Linked DNA regions of Homo sapiens: region 2 is linked to region 1. Evidence: promoter capture Hi-C in 16 types of primary human blood cells and fetal thymus (Javierre and others, 2016). All regions are on one chromosome and are shown on one strand. The core of a region is centred on a gene start or on the middle of the fragment in contact, and the rest is flanking DNA. Distances in the headings are between cores, read along the strand shown. Region 1 holds the start of ENTPD7 (ectonucleoside triphosphate diphosphohydrolase 7). Region 2 overlaps CNNM1 (cyclin and CBS domain divalent metal cation transport mediator 1).

Region 1 (4,820 bases), core at 1,298-3,797:
AAAACTAAAACTATAGAAGAAATATCTGTCATGCTAATGTTAATCAAAAGAAAGTTGGAGTAGCTATATTAATACCAGACTAGTAGATTTCAGAGCAAAGTATATAATCAAGGATAAAGAAAATCATTTAATAATGATAAAGGGGTCCATTCATAAAGGTATAATACAGTCCTAAACATTTATACACACAATAAGTTTCAGCCCACCAAAACAAGAAAACACAAAGATGCCTTTCATGCAGTATCAGTATTCCTGTACCAAACTGCATATTGCCAAAATAGGGCTTAAAATCTTCTTTATGTAATAAATGGCATGCAATTTTACTAATAAAAGTACAGTATCACCCAAAAGGGTCAAAGTCAGTAGTGTGTTAAACAGCTTATGAAAATATTTATGACTTGAGTGCCAAAATCTAAAGCTGACTCACCTTTCGTATTGCCTATCTCGTGGTAATGAAGCACTCCAATGTCGAAAGTCTATGATTAACATAAGTAAAAGGAGACAGGATATGAAGAAGAGTCCCAGGAATGCCACCCGCTGACGGAGAAATGGACTCACTGTGGGCACAGTGAAGTACCAGGAGGCTGGGCAGAGGTAGGAAAAACTGATCCTGAAATTAGACAAACATTAGTAAGTCTGAAACATTTCTACAACTGAGTGCTTAAATATCGTTTTAAAATTGGATAAAACCCTCCTAATAAAGGCAAAAATCCATGCCAACAGAAGTCTAAATGTTCTTGTCATCTCTAATTTTAGAAGAAGCTCATGGTGCTTCTACTATATATATCAGAAAAGCCTTATCTGCCCTTTTTCCAAACTGCACTTTGAGTGCAATTCAAAGACTTAATCTCATGTTAGTGAAAAGATCACCAGTCTCCCTGGGCAACCTCATAACATTGGAGAATCAGAGCAACTACAGTATTCCCAACCAAGAATTCTGTCAAGAAACAGGATGGTCAGAAAATTTATTTAACTGATTTTAAAAATGTTTTACCAGATTATACAAGCACATAGTAAAAGACAAATCAGTTTAAAAGGATATATTGTATAGTGAAAAGTGATTCTTGCCCTGACCCCACAATCTCTCAGAGGCAAACATTACTACCCAGTTGCTGTGTAATTTTTTTTTTTTTTGAGATGGAGTCTTGCTCTGTTGCCCAGGCTGGAGTGTAGTAGCGCAATCTCAGCTCACTGCAACCTCCACCTCCTGGGTTCAAGCGATTCTTCTCCCTCAGCCTCCCCAGTAGCTGGGATTACAGGTGACTGCCACCACACCCGGCTAATTTTCGTATTTTTAGTAGAGACCGGGTTTCTACTTGGCCAGGCTGGTCCTGAACTCCTGACCTCAGGTGATCTGCCTGCCTTGGCCTCCCAAAGTGCTGGGATTACAGGCGTGAGCTACTGCACCTGGCCGTTGCTGTGTATCTTTCCAGGGATATTCTACGGATACACAAGCATAAATATACACCAATATATTTACAGTAATATATCTCTGTGTGTGTGTGTGTGTGTGTGTGTGTGTGTGTGTGCGTATCCATTCCCTCGGTTTTACACAAATGGTAGTCCACCATACCTGCTGTTCTGCATCTTTCCCCCACTTTATTTTATAACTTTCCCTTATTGGTGCATGTAGATCCACATTAATATTTTTTAAAAGCTTCAGGTTATTATAATGTATGGATAAGTGTATTCATCTGTGAAGTTCACTTTGTATATTGATTCAAAAGGACCTCGGTCTGTCTGCTTTTAAAGTTCACTGCAAACAAAAAACAAAAAAACTTCTTTGTTTAACCTCCTCAAGTGGCACCTAGCCTTGCTCAGATGCGAATCTGAATCAATGTTACAACCTTGCACTTTACAGAGCTGAGCAAGCCGACTCACTCTACCACTCCTGGTCTATGGGCTAGAAACTATTATTTATCAGCCCTCGAAATAATACAACTTTGATCGTCTCTGCATCCAACTAACCAGAATACAAAGTCCAAGTGCAGCTCCAGGGCAAACCTCACTTGGGACAGCCTCCCAGGGCCCCCCAACCTGCCTGCCATCCTCTGCCGTGCTCCCAGCCGGAGGGAAAGTGTGCAGCCTTACCTAGCCATGGGTTCCCTTCGGTGGTCTCAACGCCTGTCACCTTCTTTTTCTTTTGCCCTGAGAAGGTGGCCTCCTTGTCCCAGGCATCTCCTACGTCTGCAGCCTAGAAAGATTTGATTTCAGGCTTCTGTCCGACTGAGCCCACGAGACAAACCTGCACGGGAATTCCACGGCTCCCACCTCCTCCCCAGGCTCCCGCTCCGTCTGCTCTGGTTCCTCAGGCCCAGGGGACCCTACCCGGGCATCCTGGGAGCGGGGCGTTCTCGTGGGCCAGCTCTGTCCTCTAGGAACCGGTCGTCCCCAGGTGGCGGGGTGTGGGTCCCGCTTCCTCTCCCCGTCCCTCCGGGTCCCACAGCCCTCTCGCGCCCACACTCACGGGATCAAGCGGCCCGCCGGTTCCTTCGGCACCTCTCGGTTCAGTCCCGAGCTGCTCCCCGCGGCCCCTTGCCCAGCCGGAAGGAGGGCCCGGCCGGCGGCGGCGCCACGTCCCCAAGGAAACCGCAGGGAGCCAATGACTGACAGAAGACTCACGGAGGGGCCGGCTCTCCACGAGCCGAACCGGGGGCGAACCAGCTCGGTCAGCAGCACGTCCGTCCGCCAGGGTGGCCAATCCCCTAGAGCGCTCGGCCTCTGATGCCCGCCCCGGGACTTTGAGCCGCGCCCAATCGGAAAGGCGTCGTACCGAGGCTCCGCCTGCAGGGCCCGCGGAGAGCTCACAGGTGAGTGGCGCTGGGCGGCCCTGTGCCCGCTTCCCTCCCTGGGGCGCGAACTCTCGGCTGGTTGCTTTCTCCACGGCCGCTCCTGGGACAGAGTAGCTCCGGTAGGTGGGTTCAGGGTGTTCGCGACCGAAGCGCATCCCTTGCCCATAACCTATTGTTGGTTTTGTGCCCACTGACCCTCCCTACCAGAATGGCAGTTCTCTCACCTTAAACCTTCCCTATCACCTCCCAAACTGATGCCCCGACCTCACTGTCTTGCCCCGTGAGAAAACAGAAATCGAAGACAATGACGTTTACACCAAAGTGCTTATGTCCATTCATTCATTCATTGAATGTCTGCTTATGCCAGTCATCATGAATTTCTGTGTCGCCGCCCTCCTTGACCTTACAGTAACACAAAGGAAACGACGCGCGCGCGTGGGTGTGTGTGTGTTTCTTTCTTGCTTACACCAGCCGTTATCTCATTTCCAGGAGGACGGCATAAAGTCCAAGCTCTTTCCAACGTGGCACATCCATTGCGCCCCACGATCCGCCCTACCGCCGTCCTCTGCCGCTACTTGCCTTCCTTACCACGCTCCAGCAACGCGTCCTGTTTTGCTCATTCTGCCCCTCCACCTGCCTTGAATAACCGTCCCAGCCTCTTAGCCAAATCACCTCCTACTCATCCCTTACCACCCATCTTAAGGGTCGCCTTCCCCTAAAAGCCCTACTTGACCTACTACACCTTTTTTATACATGCCTATTGTTTCACTTAGCACGTTGAATTACTATTATACGTATATGTCTGTCTGTCTGTCCCACTAGACAGAATATCCTTGAAGGCAGGGACTATTTGCTTCCACATATTCCCAATACTGGCCACTGCCTGGCAGATAAAACACAACTAATGTATAATTAATAAGCAAATGAATGAATGGGGGGGATCGGGGAGGAAGACCACCCAAATGCTTTATTTATTCAAAGCTTACTATGACAAGGGAGTCAGTCACCATCACTTGCATTTGGCCGACTCAAAGCCTGTCAGGACATTAGGAAAACTACTTACTTACTTAATTACCTACAGGGTCTCACTCTGTTGTCATCCAGGCTGGAGTGCAGTGGTGCGATCGTGGTTCACTGCAGCCTCGACCTCCTGAGCAAGCGATCCTCCCACCTCAACCTCCTGAGTAGCTGGCTCTACAGGCACGTGCCACCATGCCCAGCTTATTTTTTTTTAATTCTTTGTAGAGATGGAGTCTCACTATGTTGTCCAGGCTGGTCTTGAACTCCTGGGCTCAAGCAGTCTTCCTGTCTCAGCCTCCCAAAGTGCTGGGATTACAGGGATGAGCAGCTGCACCTGGCCAGGAAAGCTTAGTAGTGAACAAAAAGGGAAGGTTTCATGTATACTCTGACTTGAGGGTATTAGCATGGGAAAGCTGGAGGTGGGCTAACAAAAGTAGTGTCTCTTAGGTGATTGGTTTGGGGTAGGTAGCATATTTGGCTGTCTTTAGTGGGTTCTGAGTTGAAGAAAGGAGGCGGCAAAAAACAGGGAAACTGAGTCATTGACCAAGTCCTGATTATTCTCGGCTGGTTGCTGTAGAGGTTGTGGGTCAGAGTTCTAATTGTCATATAAGATCTAGCCATTGTCCAGTTTCTATATTCAGTTCTCATGACTATTGTTTTTTTGGCTCCACTACTCTCCTAACCTTGTTGAACTTCCTAATTTGCCTTTCTTCTTCAATTCTCAGTTCTCAGTTTTTTTTTCTCTGTCCCTCAATCCCCACTCTGCTTCAAGTGTTATATTTTATCTGGACCCCCAGAAACCACATTGAATAGAATAGTTGCATAAAGTTGGGATTAACCACAACATTATACAGATACCAGTTATTTTTATTATTTCAGAACCCAGTTCAGTTCCTAGAACAAAATAGATATGGAAAGAACTAAAATAATGTTTTGGAGTAATTTTTAAAAATTTCTTGAATTTACCTTCTGTGAGTTCTAAGTCTAATCTCTATACATATATATTTC
Region 2 (5,116 bases), core at 1,425-3,924, 260 kb after region 1:
GATTAAAATTCCCATCAGTAGTAGCCATATTGAATTTTCTGGGGATTCAAAGGTGAACTAGTAAGAGTACTTTCCAGAATCTAGTGAGCATATTTTTCTGTTTGTCAGTTGGACAAAATAGCGCCTTTTGTTTTGCTTCTCTCTGTTAAGGGGAAAGAAGTAAAGCTGTAATTGTCATATAATTGCTGAGCCTCCACTGCTTTAAGGATCCCCTCTGCTCTGATTATGTCTTCTTTTGGTTTTCAACAGCCAAGCAGGTTGAGTATCTGGTCAATGAAAAGCACATCTACCTGCTGCCAAGTGGTCGAATCAACGTGAGTGGCTTAACCACCAAAAATCTAGATTACGTGGCCACCTCCATCCATGAAGCAGTCACCAAAATCCAGTGAAGAAACACCACCCGTCCAGTACCACCAAAGTAGTTCTCTGTCATGTGTGTTCCCTGCCTGCACAAACCTACATGTACATACCATGGATTAGAGACACTTGCAGGACTGAAAGGCTGCTCTGGTGAGGCAGCCTCTGTTTAAACCGGCCCCACATGAAGAGAACATCCCTTGAGACGAATTTGGAGACTGGGATTAGAGCCTTTGGAGGTCAAAGCAAATTAAGATTTTTATTTAAGAATAAAAGAGTACTTTGATCATGAGACATAGGTATCTTGTCCCTCTCACTAAAAAGGAGTGTTGTGTGTGGCGGCCACGTGCTTCTATGTGGTGTTTGACTCTGTACAAATTCTAGTCCCAAAGATCAAGTTGTCTGAAGGAGCCAAAGTGTGAATGTGGGTGTCGGCTGCGGCATTAAATTCATCATCTCAACCCAGAGTGTCTGGTCTCCCTGCTCTTTCTGCATGGTTGTGTCCCTAGTCCTAAGCTTTGGTTCTTTAGGGTGACTGTGGTAAGAAGGATATTTAATCATGACATGCACGGACACGTACATATTTAACTGAAACAAGTTTTACCAAACAGTATTTACTCGTGATGTGCGTAGTGCATTCTGATATTTTTGAGCCATTCTATTGTGTTCTACTTCACCTAAAAAAATAAAATAAAAATGTTGATCAAGACATGGAGTTGATTTTATGACCACTAATGGGTTGTGACCCACAGTTTAAAATGAATGCTTTAGAGGGTTTTACTAGTGGCTAAAGGAAAAACTACAATGTGTTCTTACAGTATAGCTTCCTTCAGTGAACTCACCATATAACTCCCTGGTGATTTTGCGGGCTTGTCATTTGGAGGCCAGCTGTCTTATGTTACTTAAGAAACTGGACTTCTTGGACTGTGAGAGGAGATGACATCACTCAGGTTGATTATAGAACATCAGCCCGTTCCCTGCTGTCAGAGTCCCTCCTGGTTTATTGAAACAGAACCACAAAAACATACATCACAATTTCCAGAGTCCAAGGGCCGCTCCAAATGGCCATTTTGTAGAATTTGGTGGGGTTTGATGTTACTTAACACAAGAGGTCTATTAATTGGAGTTTTTAAGTATTTAAAGTTAATTCTTGTGATTTTAATAGGATCTGCCACTTTCTAGGACTCATTTGGGTTGTTAGAAAATCCTGCAGTCCTGAGGGATGACTGGGGCCTCAGAAGTCATCAAGTCCTGCCTCTCCGCCAGTGAAATAGTCTCTCCATATTGTCTCTGACTCATCCATTTCAACTGGTGGGGTGGTAGTGGTGATGGATTCTTTAAATACCTGGTGAGGCATCCCCTTCTGCTGGTGGGGCCTCTTAATTAAAAAAAAAGAGGCTCATTTACCTTTTGCTCACGGTAAAAGTTCATCTACCTTGAACCAGAATTTGATCTTTGTTCCACTCCCCTGCCCCTCCTTTCCTTCCTTTAAACCACAGATAGTAAATCTACTGGCACTTCTAATCTACCACCTTTCAAATATTTGAAAGTAGCAGTTGTCATTCCTTGTTTACACTTTTCCACATGAACTGCCTCTCCCCCACCACTTTTGTTTCTGCACAGGATGTGGTTTCCAGATCCTTCCCTGTCTGGCTGGAGCCCCAGGAGTTCTTCAGAGGACACTCACTCTGCCAGTGTGTGGTTGGGCTGGTGGAAGTTCATGAGTGAATGTGATTAGATGCCCTCCCACCCATCTCTTCACAGCTTTCTGAACATATCAGTCTTTGTTCTCCTCCCAATGTAAAGATGCTTGTTGTTAGTAAGGGAAGGCAGCCAACAGAGAAGTCGAATGATTCTACCTTCTGTCAATCTGCCATTCTCTCCAAACGCTTTCAACCACTCATTCTCCATGGGGACGATACTGCCTCCATGGGGACGAAAATTGGCTCTCTGGGGCAAAAAAAAAAAAAGCCTGAAATACTAAAATGTTGCCTTCCAAAGTGCAATCCTACCTGACCATCTTATTAGTATTTAATTTCTCTTGTTAGGGAAAATTAAAATTTTCTCTTTAGGGGGCTGCCAAAACCATTAAAGATAAACACATCTTTAAATCTAAGTGACAGTACCAAAGTGCTCAAATGTTTTTAGCCTTGAAAAAAGCCCATCTCAATGGGAATCTGGCCTTCTTCTATTCCGACAGATATGTTGGTTGGTGTGGTTCCCACTGCGTTCACCTGAAAAAGGGCTGTGAGTTTGGGAAGCCGGCAGGACTCCTCAGGCCTCTGACATGCCAGTGAACTTCAGAGGTGGGATTGTTTCACCAATTTTGCTCACTCAAGAGCAGGGCACTCCAACCTCCAGGCTCTGCCAGTTCCCAGGTGTGTAACCGTGAGCAAGAAGACAGTAACCTTGCAGACAGTAACCCCTCCTCCACAGGGTGGTTGAGAAAGAAATGAGCTAATGGGTACTTAACAGAATACTTGGAACATAAAGCCCTTGGCAAAATAGTTGTTTCCATTATTTATTATTACCGTTAGTGAAATGAATAGCCTCTACTGAGGTTCCTGAGAAGAATCTTAAGAGGTTTTGGCATAGGCCCCTGATCCTCCTGTTTGCTTTGAGAAATGAGTAGTAGGTGTCAGATTTCAGCCTTCCTTCCACACAGGTATTATATGCCCAAACACATCTTCCCACCTGCCTGGCTGTTCCCTCCCTCCAGCATCGGCTTAAAACTGACCAACAGGCCTGGCCCATTCTTGTGTTCCGTTCCCTAGCCTTTGGTTGCAAACTGCCAGAGTCATGCCACTTGGACTCCTTTCTGAAGGTTCTGCAGAAGCGAGCTAGTGTGACCAACATTCTGTCTCAGGGGCTTGTCTGGGTTTAGCCCCCAAGACCCTGAATTTGGACGGCACCCAGCACAGCACCTCACCCATCACATGGGTTCAGCAAATGCCAGCCCTTCTCACTGTCGTCTTAGTTCCTTCCTCGTCTTTATGCATACTGGCTTCTCATTTGGGTTTTACTTCTCATTTCTGGCATTCACTCCTGCAAAATCTTACCATCTGGCCTCCCAAAGTAGTGTGCCAAGGCTTCCCCGTGACCTCACCGCAGCCTCACACCTGGCCCGGAGCGGCATGCCTCTTCAGGCAGGTGGTGCACAGGTGAGATCATCACACGTGGGCATCACTCAACCTGCATCTCAAATGAAGCCACGTCAGAAGATTCCAGGGGCAAGGAAAACAGCCACATTCCAGGAAAGGCATTTTCATTTTATTTAAAAATTATTTACAATTTATTAAGCCTTCATAAATGCTTTATTTTAAAATCTTTTTTTTAAACTTTTTTTTTAACCTGAAGAAAATCTTTGTGGGGTGGGGGTATATAGGGAGGGGAGTGGTGACAGGCTCCATAGGGATTTTGCAAAGGGATGGGTGTAATGCAACAGCAGTGGCTTGAGCCTGGTGGCCTCAGGTGATGAAGACCAGCCAGGCAGGCACCCCGGGGCCAGTGGTCAGCTGGGCAAGAAGCCTGCATGATGGTAGTTCTTGTTCAAAACTCACCATTTATTGGTTTGGGTCTAAGTACCCAACATTGAGGGCTGACACTTCGCCTGTTCCTACCAGGCAAGAGCAGGTGTTGGGACTGGATGACTGTGAAGTTATCTACGAGAAGTCATGCACTGCTGAGCCTCAGGCCAGGCCAGGCAAGGGGTGTGGTGAAGTCAATAATCATTGCTGGAAAAGGCTTCTCTAGCTCCAAAGTCTTTACTTCCACACGCTGTGGCCCTCCTGTCTGCAACACCTGCTCTGGGTTGTTGGGGAAGAGGGGACAAAGTTATGTGGGGGTGTTGGTTGTACAATACTCTAGGGTGTGCCGAGAATTTCTGAGGACTTCCACTTCTTGGTGGGTGCCAGCCTTCCCCATCAATTGATGGACATTTGAAAAGACCACTTATGATTAAAAACCTGTCTCGAACTGCCCAGTATCCACTTCACTCTGCATTGCAGAAACGCTGGGCTGAAAGTTCCACTATTTAAAATAGTAGTGTTTTTTTTTGTTTGTCTGTTTGTTTTAACTCTTTGTAGGTCTGAGACCTTTGAGAACCTTATGAAAGCTTTAATGCTCTGGAAAAAACATACAAGAATAAATACATTAAATACTGACAGTTTTAGGGGTTTCATAGACCCTCTGAAGTCCAACTATGGACCCCCTGGGGTGATGGACCCCAAGTTAAGAACCCCTGAGTTAACAGTTCCTGTGGGTAAGCATTTTCTTTTGAGATGCAGATAACCCAGAGGAATGATCAGTCTCCCTCCTGCCTGTGAATGACTCAATGGGTGTGGGGAGGTGGGAGGGAGGGTTTTGGAGGAAGGGGAGGGAAGCTGGATGGTATACTACGGGGAAAGGTTTGGGAATGGTTTGGAGATTTAGCAGACAGCACTCGATCAATGAGTTCAGTGAGTACTTGACTGAGAACATCTAAAGAGTAGGAGACAGATCAGAAAGGGAGATAGTTATTCTGAAGACAAATTTCACTTACTTCCAAGTTTTCCCTAAGGCTGGCTGTGGTTGCTTTTCTTTTCTTTTCTCTTTCTTTCTTTCTTTTTTTTTTTTGCGGGGGGAGACAGAGTCTCGCTCTGTTGCCTAGGATGAAGTGCAGTGGTGTGATCTCAGCTCACTGCAACCTCTGCCTCCCAGGTTCAAGCGATTCTCCTGCCTCAGCCTCCCGAGTAGCTGGGACTACATGCCCAGGAGAGAT

What was found. The method cuts DNA at HindIII sites, captures the fragments that hold promoters and counts their contacts. A CHiCAGO score of 5 or more calls a contact.
Region 2: a fragment that was not itself captured here is called in contact with the fragment with the promoter of ENTPD7 in region 1 in 1 of 17 cell types (total CD8 T cells); the score reaches 5.4 in total CD8 T cells.

The regions. Positions count from the first base shown.
Region 1 is chr10:99,657,236-99,662,055 of GRCh38, reverse strand. It overlaps ENTPD7 (ectonucleoside triphosphate diphosphohydrolase 7), which reads right to left and starts at 2,547. Exons shown (of 13, transcript NM_020354.5): 1 at 2,468-2,547; 2 at 2,092-2,194; 3 at 428-610. The coding sequence starts at 2,099. It also overlaps a transcript of SLC25A28 not described here. RefSeq lists silencers at 2,319-2,538, 2,659-2,868. The HindIII fragment of the contact is 2,116 bases long and covers 1,660-3,775 here.
Region 2 is chr10:99,392,820-99,397,935 of GRCh38, reverse strand. It overlaps CNNM1 (cyclin and CBS domain divalent metal cation transport mediator 1), which reads right to left. Exons shown (of 11, transcript NM_020348.3): 11 at 3,606-5,116. It overlaps GOT1 (glutamic-oxaloacetic transaminase 1), which reads left to right. Exons shown (of 9, transcript NM_002079.3): 9 at 250-1,066. The coding sequence ends at 389. Among named protein-coding and RNA genes, the nearest start is that of GOT1, 35 kb to the left of the region's middle. The HindIII fragment of the contact is 3,598 bases long and covers 876-4,473 here.